Regions from separate parts of the Homo sapiens genome. Here region 1 is linked to region 2. The links are contacts of gene promoters, found by promoter capture Hi-C in human tissues and cell types (Jung and others, 2019). All regions are on one chromosome and are shown on one strand. Each heading gives the region's core, a stretch centred on a gene start or on the middle of the fragment in contact. The rest is flanking DNA. Distances are from core to core; before and after follow the strand shown. Region 1 overlaps ZNF473 (zinc finger protein 473). Region 2 holds the start of TSKS (testis specific serine kinase substrate).

Region 1 (4,502 bases), core at 101-2,600, 270 kb after region 2:
AAATTTCCCAATTTTCAAGTTTGAGACTAGTGAGCCATGCTTGAATTTTCTTTCAAAACATTCTGTCTGCCAACAAACATTATGGGCCAAATATCTGTCAACTGAGTTATACTCGTAGGTTGAGGCTTAACCTCTGACATGTAGAAAAACTCATTGTTCAGTAGAATTAGCATTTATTGTAGGTCTACCATATTCCCATATTTGTAGTCTCAAAAATCTGGACAACTCAGAACAACAAATTTTTTTTCATAAATTTAGTGTCCGTGCCTTACCTGAACTACTACAGGGTATTTTTTAAATATAACTTTAAATTATTCTACCTAGAATGAACGATGATACTTTTCTCTAGGGTAAAGTGTTCAATTATGAAATGCAGCCTGATCCACACTGCGCTGGGACTTTGTTTTGTTTTGTTTTTGTTTTTGTTTTTGAGACGGAGTCTCGCTCTGTCGCCCAGGCTGGAGTGCATGGCGCCATCTCGGCTCACTGCAAGCTCCACCTCCCGGGTTCACACCATTCTCTCGCCTCAGCCTCCTGAGTAACTGGGACTACAGGCGCCCACCACCATGCCTGGCTAATTTTGTTATTGTATTTTTAGTAGAGACGGGGTTTCACCGCGTTAGCCAGGATGGTCTGGATCTCCTGACCTCGTGATCCGCCTGCCTTGGCCTCCCAAAGTGCTGGGATTACAGGCATGAGCCACTGCGGCCAGCCCTGCACTGGGATTTTAATGAAATATGCCATGTATATGCCATATCACCTTTTGAAAATAAAAGTTGAATTTCAAAGCACATCTGGCCTTGGAGTTTGAAGAATTTGTGGACCTGTGTCATTGTTAAGTGATCCGTGCTGCTTTGTGATATGAAATGCTTTCAGCACTCCGCAGATATGTGCTACTTGGTCCACGCAGTGGATACAAATGGGTAAAAATGTCTGTGGTACAGTTTTGCGTATTATGGGTCATGAAAATAACTAGGTGGGCAGTGACTATGATTTTTTAATGAAGTAGAATAAAAGAGACTAGAATAGAAAACATCCCAGTGCATCTTACATTGCAGGGTAAGTATTGCTTCATGAAGCTTTTGTTTAGTTACACTGTGTGTTTGAGTAGTCATGATACTTTTTTTTTTTCTTTTTTGAGATGGAGTCTCACTGTGTTGCCCAGGCTGGAGTGCGGTGGCACCATCTCGGTTCACTGCAGCCTCTGCCTCCCGGGTTCAAGTGATTCTTTGCCTCAGCCTTCCGAGTAGCTGGGATCACAGGCACGTCCCACCAAGCCCAGCTAATTTTTGTATTCTTAGTACAGACGGGGTTTCAGCATATTGGCCAGGCTGGTCTTGAACTCCTGACCTCAAGTAATCTGCCCACCTCGGCCTCCCAAAGTACTGAGATTACAGGCGTGAGCTACTGTGCCTGGCCTATTCTACATATTGGTGGTGTTACTGTGGGTCACGGTTAAAACAAAAGTTGAAATATTTCTGTTGTAGAGATAGTGGCCAGGTGCGGTGGCTCACAACTGTAATCCCAGCACTTTGGGTGGCCCACGAGGGCGGCTTACTTGAGGTCAGGAGTTTGAGAACAACTTGGGCAACAAGTGAGATCCTGTCCCTACAAAAAGTGAAAAAGATTAGCTGGATGTGGTGGCACATGCTTGTAGTCCCAGCTGCTTGAGAGGCTGAGGTTGGAGGATTGCTTAAGCCCAGGAAATTACAGCTGCAGTGGCCCATGATTGTGCCACTGTAGTACTCCAGCCTGGCAACAGAGCAAGACCGTGTCTCCAAAAAAGAGTAACAGTTTCGGAGGCCAATTTACCTGAACTCAAATTCCAGAGATGATAATCAGAAATCCCAGAAGCATTGTTCCATTGGTTCTTTAGACACCTTCGTTCTGTCAACAACTGTAGGTACTTTTACACCTACTGTTAAAGCACCTACTGCGTACTAGGCACCATGCTGGTGCTAAGACACAGCAGTGAGCAAGACAGAAGCTCCCACTGTGGCCATAGACTTTCATCACCAAATCTCCTAAACATGTGCTGACTGACTGTTAGGTGCTAACCCACCATTGTTGGTGGCGAAGCTGTTCTGTAGGTTCTGAAGCACAGTGCAAATGTGGGGCTGAGGTGGCTTCAGTAAATATAGTTGTTGTTGTCCCCTGCAGGGAGACTCACATTGGGACTTGTCCTCCTCCTCCTGGACATTTTGGGGGCTCGTCAGCATGGACAGCGAGTCAGCCATGGGTGGAAGGGAGGCTTTCTCACAGCTCCCTTGTGCTTCCCACAGCCCTGCCAGCCGGGAACACGGAGGGGAAGGAGGAGGAGCTTAAAAGAGGCTACTGAACCCCAGTTGGCCATGGCTGAGGTGAGTTGAAGGTCGCTCTGTCCTAATCGGTCACACCCAAAGGCAGAAAAATTGGCCTTCCTTTGTGGCCGAGGCGAGTTGAAGGTCGCTCTGTGTTGATTGGTCACCCCCATGGCAGGAAAGCTGGCCTTCCTTTGTTTTGGCCTCCCTGTCCCATGGTGGCTCCCAGGCGATCTTTTTTAAAGGAAAGCTCGCATGCTGTTCTTTCCTGTTTGTACTCTTCTGGGAACCCCTATTGCTTATAGAATAAATTCCAGGTTTTTCAGCCTTCCTGTGTGTTCTGGCTTCTACCCTCTTTGCACCATCTTCTGTCATTTCTCTAGATAACAAATACTCCCTTTGGCCTAGTAGTAAAAGTTGATTCTGTACTTTCCAGCAGCTTCCTTTGCTCAGGTTGGGCCCTCTGCTGGAATTCCCTGCCCCTTTTCCATGTGGTAGTGTCTCACACAGCCTTTAAGACCCGGCTCAGTTCCCCCACCCTTCCCTAGGCAGTCAGCACTTTCCTGCTCTAGCCTTCCATAGTACCCCCTGCTGCCTCCACTGTAGCACAGATCCACCTAGATATGGATGTTCCTGCCCATATCTGTCAGCCCCACCAGACTAGATGCTCCTTGGGGACAGGAACTGATGGGGATTCATCTCTGGGTCCCCAGGGCCCAGCACAGGCCAGGAACACAGGAAGCCTCATGAGGTGTTAGTTGAATGAATGAATGAATCAATGAATGATGCATGAAACCATCTCTCTATCTGGTAAATATCTGTTCATCCTTAGTGATCCAACTTGAATGACCTTCCCTCCAGGAAGCTTTCCCTGACCTCAAGGCAATGGCCTCCCTCTCCCCCTTGGCCCACACAGTCCCCGATACCTCCCTTTGCCACAGTCCTACCTCCCTCGTGTCTCTCCGTCAGACCATGAGCTCCATGAGGCCAGGAAACAGGTCTGACACACGTCCATGTCCCCAGTGCCCACAATGTGGTCTAGCACACAGGGTAAATGATTGCCAAATATGTGCTCTGACCTTGTCACTTTCCTGTGGCTCCCCAGTGCCTCAAGGATCTAGTCTGCCCCGTCTTCCCACCTCCTTCATCACTGTGACAGGGGCCTTGTCCAGCGCAGTCTGGGAGTGTGAGGAAAGGAAGCCCCTCAAAGGTCCTCTTTGATCTGGCTCCTGCTTGGCTGCTACTCTTGACAGGATATAGACAGCAACAGTTTCTGTTATAAGTACCAGAAATTGACTTACGCAGTCAGGAGACTATTAATTATATAACCAAAAGTCCAGAGGTAGGGCTGTCATGATCTGCAGGTGTGACTGGGACTCAGTTTATTGTCCCCATCTTGAACCTCACTTAGTATGGGTTCCATCCTTCATGAGCTCCTTCCCTTGTCCCAAAACAGCTATCAGGACCATGTGCTGCTTTGCCTCATTCAACAAGTATTTACTCTGTGCCTGTCATGAGTGGGCTTTGTTGTAAGTCTGGACTAGGGAAACGGTTTAGGTGGTTCCTGCCCTCATGAAGCTTACTTTATTGCGGGTGACAGTGTATGAGCTTGCTAGGGCTGCTGTAACAAAGTACCACACACTGGGTGGCTGAAAACAACAGAAATTGGTGGTCTCCCAGTCTTGGAGGCCAGAAGTCTAAGATCAGGGTGTTGGCAGGGCTGGATCCTTCTGAGGCTGTGAGCCAGGCCTCTCCCCTGTGTTCTGGCAGATGGTGGCCAGCTTTGGTGTTCCTCGGCCTGGAGAGGCATCACCTCAATCTCTGCCTTCATCTTCACAGGATGTCCTCCCTGTATCTTCACATTGTCTTCCCTCAGCCTGTGTTTGTCTTTGTGTCCCCATTTCTCCTTTTTATAACAACTTCAGTCGTTTTGGATTAGGACCCACCCTGATGACCTCATCTCAGCTTGATCACCTCTGTAAAGACCCCATTTCCAAATAAGGGCAAATTCTGAGGTACTGGGGGTTAGAACTTCATTGTATCTTTTTAGAGGGTTACAGTTCAACCCATACCACACAGTAAAATGCATTAAGTAAATCCCATAGAATGCAGGCAGTATTAAGGATTATGGAGGAAAGGGATAGGGAGGCCCAGGGTAGATTTGCTGTTTTATACAGAGGGGTGGGAGAAGGCTTCATGGAG
Region 2 (4,592 bases), core at 1-2,500:
GCAGGGGGCCCAGCCAGTGTGAGTTGGCCGCTGAGGTCTTCCACTGTGGAGTCTGTCCCCGTGGAGTCAGTGGGCTCCATGGCGGCCAGGTTGAGCAGTGACACGTTGGTGCAGGCCGAGGACCGTTTGAGGTTCAGGCACCAGTGCATGGGCTGATGGGACATCTGGGGCTCCACCCTGCAGAGAAGAAACAGGCAGAAAAGTGGAGAAGCAGCCCCAGGGTGTCTGGGCCCTCCTGCCTTCCTTTCTCCATACCTCACCCCCTGTGACTCCACCCTCACTGTATATAAGTTTCTCCCTTCTCTGTCCCCGCTGCCTACTTTATTCTCCTTCCCTGTGCTGCCTACTTTCTTTCTTTTTTCTTTCTTTCTTTTTTTTTTTTTTTTGAGACAGAGTCTCACTCTGTTGCCCAGGCTGGAGTGCAGTGGCGCGATCTCAGCTCACTGCAACCTCCGACTGCGGGTCCCAGTTCAAGCAATTCTCCTGCCTCAGCCTCCTGAGTAGCTGGGGTTATAGGCATGTGCCATCACGCCCAGCTAATTTTAGTATTTTTAGTAGAGATGGCTTTTCACCATGTTGGCCAAGCTGGTTTTGAACTCCTGACCTCATGATCCACCTGCCTCGGCCTCCCAAAGTGCTGGGATTACAGGCGTGAGCCACCGTGCCCGACCACCACTGTCTACTTTCTTCTTCTCCTTCCCCGCTGCCTACTTTCTCCTCCCTTCTCTGCCACCTACTTTCTTCTTCATTCACTAGCCTCCCTTCTCCTTCTTCCCTCCCCACTGGCTTTTTCCTCTCTCCATCCATCCCCATTACCTTCTTCCTCCCTCCATCCATCCCCATTACCTTCTTCCTCTCTACCTCCCTGTGACTTGATGTCTCTTCACTGCTGCCCTCTTTCCTGCCCCCGACCTGCTGGCTTTTCCCCCTCCCCTTCCTCTAGCACCCACAGTCGGACTCCTGCTCTGTTGGAGGTAGTGCTGGGCATTAGAACCATCCCTGACAGTGTGCAACAAACCCACCCGTGGAACGACACGGCCTTCTTTTTCTTCGGGATCCCCTTGGCCCGGCTGGTCACCCTCCGGGGAGCCTCTGGGACTAGCTGGGAGCAGCTCTCCACCCCCGTGGGGGTGTCCCCGGCCTCATGGATCTCTTTGGACTGCCAGATCGTCTTCACCACCACGCTCGCCATGGTGTGGGGGTCTGGCTCCCAGGGAGGGGCTCCTTCCTCTGAGACTTCCTACCTACTGTGACCACAGACCCTCAGGATCCACTGTCCCCTCAGCCTGCCTCACAAAGGACCCAACCACTGGGCCCCAGTGAGTGGGGGGCACAGGGTAGGGAGAGATGCTGGCCCAGGTCATTCCCCTAGGGTTCTCAGTGGACTCCTCCTGTTCAGGATTCTAGTTACATGCCCAATGTGCCCCCCGTCTTCAGAGCTCCAGTGGATGGATTCATGCTAGCCTGTAACTTAACAATGGGTCGGCCCACGGATTCTTGGGAGAGGTCCAACTTCCCTCTCCCTGAGACTAAGCGTGGGGTCACACAGCCCTGTGCACTTGTTCTTGATTCTTCATGTAGCTTCCTGGATTTGACAATTGGCTGGGGTTTGAGAGACTGTGGTCGAAGAGGGCTGAGATCCAGACCCTGACCTGGAGGGTCTCATATTCTATGGGGCGTCGGGGTCGGGGGAAAGGCAATATACAGGTAGATCAACAAAAGAAAGCTAGGTGCGGTGGGCCTCGGGGTCAGGGTAGAAGGTGAGGGAGGAGAGGAAGGTAGAGAGTTGGGGCAGGACAGAGGGTGGTATCCCCCTCCCCCGTTTATTTATTTATTATTTTCTTTAATACTTTTTATTTTTTTTGAGACAGAGTCTCTCTCTGTCATGGAGGCTGGAGTTCAGTGGCGCGATCTCAGCTCATTGCAACCTCCACCTCCCGGGGTTCAACCGATTCTCCTGCCTCAGCCTCCCCAGTAGCTGGGACTACAGGCGCTGGCCACAATGTCCGGCTAATTTTTGTATTTTTAGTAGAGACGGGTTTCACCATGTTGGCCAAGTTGGTCTCAAACTCCCGACCTCAAATGGTCCACCCGCCTTAGCCTCCCAAAGTGTGGGATTACAGACATGAGCCACCATGCTCCGCTATAATTTTTTTTTTTTTTTTTTAGATGGAGTCTCGCTCTGACACCCAGGCTGGAGTGCAGTGGCGTGATCTTGGCTCATTGCAACCTCTACCTCCCAGTTTCAAGCGATTCTCCTGCCTCAGCCTCCTGAGTAGCTGGGACTACAGGTACCTGCCACCACACCCATCTAATTTTTTTTTTGTATTTTTAGTAGAGACAGGGTTTCACTGTGTTGGCTAGGCTAGTCTCCAACTCCTGACCTCGTGATCTGCCCACTTCAGCCTCCCAAAGCATTGGAATTACAGGTGTGAGCCACTGCGCCCCGCCCGCCCAAAGTATTTAAAAAATATATGGAACATGTCACAAATTTGCATGTGGTCTTTGCGCAGGGCCCATGCTAATCTTCTCTGTATCGTTCCAATGTTAATACATGTGCTGTCGAAGCGAGCACTGCCCTGCTATTTAGGGACAGACTTTTCCTGTTCTCTTCACACTTCTCAAAAAGACTAGTTCAAACATCACTGCTAATAGACATTTTAAATGCTGTTATCCCCAGGGAGAAAGTACTTCTTCCTGGTCATGAATGGACTCCAGTTCTTGGAACACTTAATCTTTCTATAATAAAGAACTCCTGGCTGGGCGCGGTGTCTCACACCTGTAATCCCAGCACTTTGGGAGGCCGAGGCGGGCGGATCACCTGAGGTTAGGAGTTCAAGACCAGCCTGGCCAACATAGTGAAACACTGTCTCTACAAAAATACAAAAATTAGGCGAGCATGATGACGGGTGCCTGTAATCCCAGCTACTTAGGAGGCTGAGGCAGGAAAATCGCTTTAACTCGGGAGGAAGAGGTTACAGTGAGCCGAGATTGAGTCACTGAACTCCAGCCTGGGGGACAGAGAGAGACTCTGTCTCAAAAAAAAGAAAAAAAAAAAAGGCCGGGCGCAGTGGCTCACGCCTGTAATTCCAGCACTTTGGGAGGCCGAGGTGGGCGGATCACAAGGTCAGGAGATCGAGACCATCCTGGCTAACACGGTGAAACCCCGTCTCTACTAAAAACACAAAAAATTAGCCAGGCATGGTGGCGTGCGCCTGTAGTCCCAGCTACTTGGGAGGCTGAGGCAGGAGAATGGCGTGAACCCGGGAGGCGGAGGTTGCAGTGAGCTGAGATCGCGCCACTGCACCCCAGCCTGGGCGACAGAGCGAGACTCCATCTCAAAAAAAAAAAAAAAGAACTTCAAGTCCTGGGATTAATAATTTTTCTTGTGTTTAATGGGGCTGCTTTATGTTCTTCAGGGGCAAACAGCACCCCCCTCCCATATTAGAAATGGACTCTCCCTGTGACTAAAACAGCTGAGCAATTTCTGTCCTCCTGGAATCCAAAATGGACTTTCCCAGGCCCCATTCCTGGAAACCCAAATGGACGCATCCATTGAGCCTGGAAGGTGGGCTCTTCTCAACCTCCTTTCCATCTCCCAGGATTCAGAATGGCCATTCCAAAGGTCCAGAACACACCCCCAAGGCTCATTCCAGGAATTCTTGGCTTCTGAGATTAGAAAAGGCTGATGGGGTGGAGTTTTGTTCCTACAGGTGACAGAAATGGACTCTTCCAGTTCCCTTTGTCCCAAATTTCTCAATCTCCTGGGGCGTTGGGAGTTCTGGCCGTTTTGCCTTCCCCAAAGCCAGTTTACCAAAGAGTCTCTGGGGAGCTGGGGGTTGGGGATGGAGGCTGGGGCTGGGCCAAAGCAGATTCACCTATTTCTTCTTTTAACAAATGTTGTTGAAACTGTTCAAGGCCAGGTCCCATTCTTGCCCAGAAGGAGTTCCCAGTCTGGAGGAGACAATCAATTTTGGTTTGATATCTGCTACAATGGAGGCTGCCCGAGAGACACTGCGGTTGGACAAAAAAAAAAAGGCAACATATATTGAAAAGTAAGCCAAGATACGGTTTACGTTTATTTCTGCTTTTTCACTTCCAAGCTGTGTGGCCCTGGGCAAGTCATTCGCCCTCTCGACCTAAGTTTTAACTTCTGCTTAATGGGACTAGCCTTGAATTACTGTTTTTCACTCTGAGATTCTAGGTCTCCTGACAACTCAAGTCCCGACACGTTGGCTGCAGAGAAGGGGGGAGGGGAGGAAGGCTTCCTAGAAGAGGATTTCAGCAGTCGGGGGTGACAGTGGAGGGAGAAAGGGAACACGGAGACGCTTGCGCAGTAAACACCGCACGCTCTCTTGCCTCGCCCAACCCCTTCTCTGCAGCAGGGAATTGCAGGCGTCGCTCCACCTATCCCAGCCGAGCGGAGTGACACCCTCCCCTCTTTCCTTCTCTACTGATCTTCGCCTTCCGCCCGCCCCACAGCCGCCCAATGGAGGGCTGAAGTAGGACAGATCTCGCCAATCCGCGACGCCTGCGGGGCAGGTCTACCCGTTCATTGGTCCCAGTCAACCTAAGTCCCGCCTCCTAGGACC

Evidence for each region. Contacts are between HindIII fragments. The study calls those that stand out against the background at their distance.
Region 1: a contact is called between a fragment that was not itself captured here and the fragment with the promoter of TSKS in region 2, in 1 of the 25 tissues and cell types used here (spleen).

The regions. Positions count from the first base shown.
Region 1 is chr19:50,028,732-50,033,233 of GRCh38, forward strand. It overlaps ZNF473 (zinc finger protein 473), which reads left to right. Exons shown (of 5, transcript NM_015428.4): 2 at 2,161-2,360. The coding sequence starts at 2,352. Among named protein-coding and RNA genes, the nearest start is that of ZNF473, 5.0 kb to the left of the region's middle. The HindIII fragment of the contact is 4,342 bases long and covers 1-3,521 here.
Region 2 is chr19:49,762,056-49,766,647 of GRCh38, forward strand. TSKS (testis specific serine kinase substrate) reads right to left here and starts at 1,251. Exons shown (of 11, transcript NM_021733.2): 1 at 1,023-1,251; 2 at 1-177. The coding sequence starts at 1,192. It also overlaps the pseudogene RNU6-841P. RefSeq lists enhancers at 1-4, 3,611-4,588 and a silencer at 4,501-4,592. The HindIII fragment of the contact is 39,317 bases long and covers 1-4,592 here.